3 separate regions of the Homo sapiens genome follow, and all the other regions are linked to region 3. Evidence: promoter capture Hi-C in 16 types of primary human blood cells and fetal thymus (Javierre and others, 2016). All regions are on one chromosome and are shown on one strand. Each heading gives the region's core, a stretch centred on a gene start or on the middle of the fragment in contact. The rest is flanking DNA. Distances are from core to core; before and after follow the strand shown. Region 1 overlaps SLC13A1 (solute carrier family 13 member 1). Region 2 has its middle 63 kb from the start of TAS2R16. Region 3 holds the start of CADPS2 (calcium dependent secretion activator 2).

Region 1 (2,775 bases), core at 236-2,735, 240 kb after region 3:
AATAAATTATAACATTGTCACTTATAATGGTACTCATTCATTCACTCACTCATTCATTTATATTCCACTAACATCTTTGCCAACTGTGAATAGCACAGTGCATTAGACTATAATATTCTTTGCTATGCAAAATGTCCATAATATTCCATTGGTTCCAATAGCATCTTGTAGCATTTTAATTATTATCCATTAATATTTGAACATTTTATTAGTTTTTAGGTCATAAGGAGGATCATGATAGATTCACCAAGATTTCAGTTTAAAAATAATTCAAGATTCAGATTAAATAAAGTATTATTTATGAGGTTCTTAAAGTGCTTATAAAAGGATTATCATAAAGATTTCTCTTTATATTTGGCTTCTGATCTCTCCATTGCTTTGTTGATAAAGAAGTTCATTTGGAGACATATTCTGCCCATTTAACTTGTGTATAACAGGCAGCCTTCTACATGGTAAGATTTTAAGTTTACCAATAAGCTTCCTTCCTATCATCTTCCCCCAAATCCAAACCAAACCCATCCTCACTGATAACTGAAATTATGTCACCAGGTTTCTTACTTTAAGGTCATATATCTTGTTAAAATGTAAACATCTCTGACAAGTACTTCTTATTTAAAATTTAACATATTTATATATTATTTGTCATTTTTAAGCCTTGTATGAATGACTTTAGCAGGGAGAAGAGGTTTTGAAGAATGAGGGGAGAGAGAAAGGTGGGTAGGAGCAAGGCTCTTTCTAAGGGAGGGAATTCAGATGTGGAAACCAGGGAAGCTAAAGCCAAACATGGATTCCTCAGTACTTGCCACTGCCAGACCTCAGGGCTTTGACTGCAATGATCAGAGTCCTTGGGGTCCCATAGGAATCAATGCTCCATATTGCATCACCTCCTTAACACACATTGAGATATTCTAATCTCAAGTGAAAAACAAAGTACATTTGTTTCTATGCTGTGCTGGTCACATATGTCCTGGAAATCTGATACATTAGTCATTTATAGATTCTGACAAGAGTCAAGTGGGCCAACACAACTACATAAATCCCAGTTCCATCCCCATAAGAACAAACAAACAAAACCACAAGTCTACTAGTTAATTTCCAGACAATTACAAATTAGTTGTCCCACATTGACAAGATAGGAATCTGACTACTCAAAACATGCTGTGTTGTAAAGCAAAGATATGGATGAATCTTGTGTTTAAAAAGTGTGTGTGTCTGTGTGTGTGTGTGTGTGTTGAGAGGATGGTATGCTCAGGCAAATGTGCACACTTCTTTGTTCATGTGTTGTAAATACAATGAATGCTGTCACAGAATACCTTTTCTTTATTTTTATTACTATCATTATTTTTAGAGACCGAGTCTCCCTCTGTTGCCCAGGGCAGTGGCACAATCATAGCTCACTACAGCCTCCAACTCCTGGGCTCAAGTGATCCTCCTGCGTTGGCCTCCAGATTGGCCACCACACCTGGCTAATTTTTTTAATTTTTTGATAGAGCTGGGGTCTCACCATGCTGCCAAGGCTTGTTTCAAACTACTGGCCTCAAGTGATCCTCCTGCCTCAGTCTCCCAAAGTGCTGTGATTGCAGGTGTGAGCCACCACATCTGGCCCTTTTATTTCAGCTGTGATCCTAGGATATGGCTATGTGAGGTTTATTTAGCTTTTGTTCCAGAACTACTTTGAGAATGTAAATACTCTTTCTCTTGAAATTCATCACCTTTTTAGATCCTCTGCATTTATTACCAAGGTATCATAATGAAGCAGTGTCTTCCAAGTTCTTTTTCCTCTGTTTGCCAATAGTAAGATTAATTTTGAAGTGAGTTTACCATGGGTCAAATAGTATCGCTTGTAGCAGAGCCCTAGCCATGATACAAAAGGAAATCTACTTCTCACTTCTGCAAAGTAAGACGATCTCTCTTGAAGGTGGAAGCTGTGCTGGCTTGAAGACAGCATTGCAGTTTGCAAATAGGGCATGCTAGGCCAGGGATTGTGCCAGCATAGACTTTCTTTCTGCTCTAGGTGCCAAGCGAAACCAATGGAATTTTGTAATTTTTGCTCTTCTGTTAAATTTATGCAGAATTATAAATGATACTCAACCAATTTCTCCTGTAGGTGTAGTTTTAGTCAGTGTCTTAGCTGGGATAAGAAAGAATAGCAGCCCTATAAGTAAAGCAACAGTTGAATCTGTAGCAAAACCAGGGTACCTGTAAAAGGGACAAATACATGTATTAAAAATAGCATCAAGAACTTAAATGAGCTAAAACACCAATTTTGCTAATAACATATCAGTAATAGGTTATTATCAGTAGTAGGTGGTGTAGGTTATTTATCCTCAATAATCTGCCCTAAAATATATGGATTCCCGATTAAATGACACAACACTAAAAACAATAATCTCAGACCATAGTCTTATTGTTCCCATATATCTCTTCTTATTTTCAATACCACGTATACACATGCTGACATACTAGGCCAAAGTGGCAAATTTCCCTTTTAGATAAGCTTACAGATTTGTTAAACAATTTCTTCTTTGAATTATTTAATTTAATAATATTGATCAAGATTTGAAGTTGAAACATTGCTAGAGCATGGAAAGCCCCATATAATTGATTTATAACATCCTTCTATTAAATTGTGGCAAGGCGTGATATTTCTGTGTTCCTCTAAAGCTCTTCTATAAATTGTGAAAAGGAATTGATCTGTTTTCTGAGATATCACACCTGCTTCTGTGTTTATAAGCTCTAACCATATCATACAAAGGAAAGCAACCTACTTAATTT
Region 2 (2,837 bases), core at 269-2,768, 170 kb after region 3:
ATGTGATATATAGCTATAGCCAAACATTCTAGGTGAGAAGGGATGTGCAGAAAAGAAGAATGAACACATGAAATGGTGCAGCCACACTTCTGTGAAAACGTTAGTGTCCTATGGTCCCAGTGGTCCTTTCTAGGGAAAACCTCAATGGCAAGAAATGTGGTGGAGCAGTGACGATGTCTTGCAGAGTTGGAATTGTTTGTGAATATAATGGAGATTCATAGGACTCCCAGAAACCATTGATGCAAATCTACAGGAGCTGAAGTTTTAGTTGACAGGTAGAACAGAAATGAAATGAGCTATTATCATTACTCTGTTCTCATCAAAATCATAGCATTGGTTGTTATAAATGTAGATAAGGCATATTAAAAACTTACATGAATGAATTCAGTAAAGAAATACAACCATGTGCATATATTCATGTCAACTAGCTATTTTTTCGGAATCAAAAAATATTATCTTGCTATTTTGGCATGTAGTCAGGATAAGCATACTGTTGTTTGATTAAGTGTTAAAGTTCACAATGAATAAATATCATCTTTGCAACTAAACTCCATGGTATTTTCTTACTAAGAATGTTTTTGTACTTACAAGAACAGATGTAGTGATAAAAGAATCCCAAGTTTTTCTAAGTCCTTCAATTAAAAAATTCTAAACCTAGAATATACATATGTGCATGTATTTATGTGTGTGTATGTGTGTGTATTCTTTTATCTATAAAATGGGAATAAGTAACATTTATAATATATGTTGAGTTCCTAAGTAAAATCATTTTCCAAATGTAAAATGAGTTGCTTTCAAAGCATTGGTGTATTTTTTATGTTTTTCTTATTTAATCATCAGAAATTCAATGTTTACTTGAATCATCAAAAAATTATTTCAGATGGCAACTGACATTTTCTCATATTAAAAAAAATAAATCCTTGAGTTGACAGACATCCAACAGTAGGAGGTAAGCCTTGAGCTGACAGTTGCTTCCTCATATGGACTTTTAATTACAGAGTCAGCATGCAAGCTTCAGAAGCCCCCAGGAGTCAGCAGCAAACATTGACTTGTGTGCAATACATTGCTAGAACTGTAATAGGAAAAAGTGTGGCAATTAAATGTGGGTTTTAGTGAGGGCATTCAGTGTATGTATCTGTTCTAGGACCATGAGTCTTAATCTCATGTAGAAAAAAGGCTATCATTTTATCTATTCAGCTTTATCAGAAAATGGGTTGTTTTCCATAATTAAAATTTTATAATAATTGAGGCCTAGAATTTATTCACTGGGATATTTAAGCCATTTAGATATCTAAGCCACATCTTTTAAATGTATATTGGTATTTCCCTACCTTTTACACAGAGTATTTCGACCAAAATATAAACTTCTCTTACTCTGCTAAGTTCCAGTGATAAAGTTGAATTTTTGAGGTTTTATTGTGATTACAGTGAAACTCTAGTTTTTCCAGCTCTGCATCTTACATCAGCCATTCTTTCCCAACACTAGCATTTAGCACAACAGTCATGCTGGTCTTTCTAAAAGGCTGTTTTATGAAATCTAGGTACAAAGATGACTGAGTTTATTAGGGTAAATCAATTATTTCCTCATTATTTTAAATCAGTGGGCTTTTATATGAGGCTCAAAAGAAGACTTCTGTCTTCATGGACTCAGCATTTTATTATTGCCATTTTTCTAATCAAATCCCAAAATATTCGCAGAGCACCTGTTATATGCCAGGAGTGAAGGATGTTGCCAAAGATGTGTCAATCGGATGAGAAAAATGCCGCTGAACTCAATACTTTGGGAAATAGGGAGTATGGGTTTTGCTATTTCTCCCCAGGCTTTCCACATCCATGGGCACAGTCAAGAACTCTTATTTTCAAAGATTTTCTATTGTTTTCTGCATCAGCAGAAGATTATATATAACCTCTCCACACTTGCAATTTTAGAATCATCGTGTTTTCTGAGGCGTGTCACCCTTTACAAGTCCTTACACCCTCCTGGGTAAAGTCTTGAGCTGATTGTCTAAAGTATCTATATGTAAGGAAGCTTGTCTGTGAGGTTCACATCTAAAGTCTTAGTTTTTCTGTCAAGTTTATCTCCTCCATATGCCTGCTAAAAAATAAAGTTCCTACAAAAACTTGGATAGATCACATTTAGGAAAATATATATGAATAGTAAATACATGAAAGCAGATAAGGAACTTTTGCACAATCAGCCTTAAATCTTTGATTGAATAAAGCAGTATCAACTAATATACAAACAGATACCCCTGATCCTACAGTTCCCCCTGACTCTTCCATTTTCCCTTTTAGGAAGACTCAGTGGTTCAAACCTTGGCTCCTTTTAGAAGCCCCACTCCAGCACAATTCAGTTAAAATTTCAAGGGTCCTCCTCTATTAATATTAAAAAAAATTAAGCCTTCCCAGGTGACTCTAATTTATGCCTGCGGTTGACACAACTGAGTTAGATTGATTTAAAAGGGACGATAAATAGACACTGTTTTGGCAAAAGCCCATTCCAAACAGCCATCTGATATCTTACTTAATCTAATCTGAGATAAGTTCATTTAAACAGAAAGTTGAAACTAATATAATTTCAAATAATCTTTGGAATATGTGTAAAACAAAGGCAACATATCAGGAATACATTTTTCCTCCAAATGGGCTAATGATAGACTACAGAATTTGAGACAGTGTTTCATATTTTGACATTTCAGTAATGGCTATTAATCATAGCCTTCTATTTTACTATCGAAAAATGCCATTTAAATACCATTTGTTAATTATAACATCTTTGGAAGTCTATTCATATGTAGTCTAAGAGTGAAAAAAGTTCATAAGCCTATCCTGAATTA
Region 3 (2,700 bases), core at 66-2,565:
GGACAATTTGAGTCATTACTCGTGTCTGGTACAGAACATCAGGCCCCTGGGGTCTTGTTTTGAAACTCAAGTTGGCCAGCCTTTCACCTGAAACAAACTTCTTACCTTTTGGGGGAGAATAAGCATTTTGTTCCCCAAAAAAGCATTTGGAAAGCATTTGTTATGAAGTGATCATGCACCAATCCTTTATCTTTCATCAGTAATAGTATATTTCATTAATCAGGCCTGCCCAGACCAGAAATTACTTACCCACAAACACTTTACAAAGCTGCATGCCTTCTCGGTGTTTGGATTTGATGTCCTGGTTGTATGACAATATAGGAAACGTATTAATTTAACTTTTTTATTCACTGAGGAAAATTTCTACCCCTCTTAAGTGAAGACTTCACTCTAGCTAAGAGAAGTACTCGGGCTCCACCTGTTTCGCCTAGCTACAACACTCATTCAGACCCTCGGCAAACCCAGCTCTAGCAATATCACGCCAGGCTAGGTGGACAGGAATGCACCAGTGCTGTTGGAAATTAAAGTTGATGGGAGTTGCATTCTAATCCGGCCAGAGCTGCGCCTGCCGGGTGCAACCGCGGCGCGGCCGGCGCTGTCGGTCTCTGTCTCACGGATGGTGAGCTGACAGCTCCTGCCAGCCCAGGCGGGGAGGAGGAGAAGAGGTGTCCGCTGCAGCCGCATACCCGGCGGGTGAAAGCACCGTCTTGTCCCCAAAGATTCCTCTGCCCTCAGAGACTAACAAAAATACGGTGTCCTGCGTTTCGCAGAAGGACGGGAGGCGTCCCAGAGCTCTCCCGGGAGAAAAACCCAGGGAGAAGTGGTGGTAGGAGGCGCCCGGTCCCGCAACTCACCTTCTGCTGCCTCCGGGCCATGTCGGTGGGCTGCTTGGCGTTGAAGGGGTACGCGATGCACCTCACGACGAAGACGTAGAGCTGCAGGCGGATCCTCCGCTCCTGCTCATCGTCCAGCTGCCGCTGGGGCTCGTCTCGCCCCTCGCTGAGCACAGAGGGGCTCGGGCTCACAGATCTGGCCGCGCCGCCGCCGCCCGCGCGCCCCGGCGCGTCCCGCCGCCCTTCCCGAGTCGGGGCTGGAGGAGCTCGCTGCGAGCTGCCGGCTGCCACCAGCACATCGCGGCTTTCCTCTTCCAGCCCCTCGTCCGACTCCTCTTCGCTGGAAGACGGGTCCAGCATGGTGCTCGGGGATCCCCGCCGCTCGGCCCGCGGTCCCCAAGCGCCTCACCCCCGGCGGCTGCGCCCGCGGGTCTGAGGGAGCCGCGGGGCTGGCTGCAGCGGCCGCAGAACGAAAGGAAAACTGGCCAGGGCTTTCCGGACACGTCGAGTTAGATTCAGGAGTGTTTCCTACCACCAGGGCGAAAGGGGCGGGCAGGAGCCGGGAGGAGGATTGGGAGGGGGGAGAGGGGGAGCCGCCGGGACTGAATAGGCGGAGTTAGCGTTGGGGGTGAGCTTGGGCGCCTCAGGAATTGCTCCGCCAGCCCCGGGCGCGCCGACCCAGCGGTTCCCCAGAGCCCGCCGGCAGAGGCGGAGCCGCCCGAGCGCCCGGACGCAGGTGGGGAACCTGTGGCGCCTACAACAAGCAACACGTGGAATTGAATGTTGAAGAGCCGCGCGGGGCCGCGGAGTGCGCGTGCGCGCGCCGCCGCTGCTGCCCGGGCCCGCCTGGAGCCCTAGCACACAGTTTGCAAAGGCGGGGAGCGGCCGAGCGCGATGGCCCGTGTAAGCGTCCACCGGGGCTGCTCCGACTACCCTCACCCTACCACCTGTGATCTTTTCTCCAGCAGGTGGAGGTGGAATGGGGAGCGGGGAGGGACTGTTCCCTAGCAAGAGGTTAGGGGGAGCGGCCGAGACATCTCCCCAACCCGAATCGGCTGCCTAGGATTGAACCCCAGCGCGGAAAAGCGGGACTGGAGCCCTTCACCACGAAGTATCTTTGCGACAAGACTTTGAAAAGTCTCACTCTGCTCTGCTGCCGTTTTGATACTCATGCTGAAGCCCAAATTATAAAAGTCGGAGTAATGAAAAAAAAAAGAAAACCAACGAGGCTTACTTTTTAAACTGTTCTAGTCCTGCAGACTCAAGGCAAGAGAGATTTTATATGTGCAAAATGATACTGATTCAGCTCAAACATATCTCGATTATTTTCTGGGTTGGGATGCAGTTGACTCAAAACAGGTTGTGTAGTGTGGACATTTATTCAACAAAGATTTGAGCGCCCTCCCGGTGTCCAGCACTGTTAGCCTTTTGCGGAGCCCGCGGTGACTAAGGCACATGACACTCAGTCGCTGGTGGTTCTGGCCTCAAGTCGGCGTCTTGTAGCTGCGCTGAAGCCTGCCTTATCTGCGCAGATTTCTCAGTCCTAGTGCTGGAACCACCTAGGAGTTTCTTATAGTAATTCTGTATCTTATGTCCTAAGTCCTGACAGAGGGGGAAATAGGCAAAACAATGCATTCAACACCAGGTGGAGTGTGCAGCGACCAGGTGGGCAGGGAGGTGATGAAGTTCAGTGGAAATAACACAGGGCAAATTAACTACCAGCTCTGAGCTCCTCTACCACCATGGTCAAACAGCAGTTTTAGCTTTTTCAGGCCACTTTCATATAGTTAGGTACACAAGAGAGACTTCTGCACTTACTGACATTCTCTCTAGATGGGTAAAAGACAAGGAGGCATTTACTCCTGAG

Evidence for each region. Contacts are between HindIII fragments. The CHiCAGO score rates a contact against its expected background, and 5 or more counts as called.
Region 1: a contact is called between a fragment that was not itself captured here and the fragment with the promoter of CADPS2 in region 3, in 1 of 17 cell types (endothelial precursors). The highest score is 5.5, in endothelial precursors.
Region 2: a contact is called between a fragment that was not itself captured here and the fragment with the promoter of CADPS2 in region 3, in 1 of 17 cell types (endothelial precursors). The highest score is 5.1, in endothelial precursors.

Annotation. Positions count from the first base shown.
Region 1 is chr7:123,123,477-123,126,251 of GRCh38, forward strand. SLC13A1 (solute carrier family 13 member 1) reads right to left here. Exons shown (of 15, transcript NM_022444.4): 11 at 2,093-2,199. Among named protein-coding and RNA genes, the nearest start is that of SLC13A1, 75 kb to the right of the region's middle. The HindIII fragment of the contact is 2,020 bases long and covers 476-2,495 here.
Region 2 is chr7:123,057,111-123,059,947 of GRCh38, forward strand. No RefSeq gene overlaps it. Among named protein-coding and RNA genes, the nearest start is that of TAS2R16, 63 kb to the left of the region's middle. The HindIII fragment of the contact is 1,017 bases long and covers 1,011-2,027 here.
Region 3 is chr7:122,885,145-122,887,844 of GRCh38, forward strand. It overlaps CADPS2 (calcium dependent secretion activator 2), which reads right to left and starts at 1,316. Exons shown (of 30, transcript NM_017954.11): 1 at 855-1,316. The coding sequence starts at 1,193. RefSeq lists an enhancer at 604-653 and silencers at 1,014-1,143, 1,184-1,233, 1,244-1,323, 1,394-1,553, 1,564-1,723. The HindIII fragment of the contact is 15,066 bases long and covers 1-2,700 here.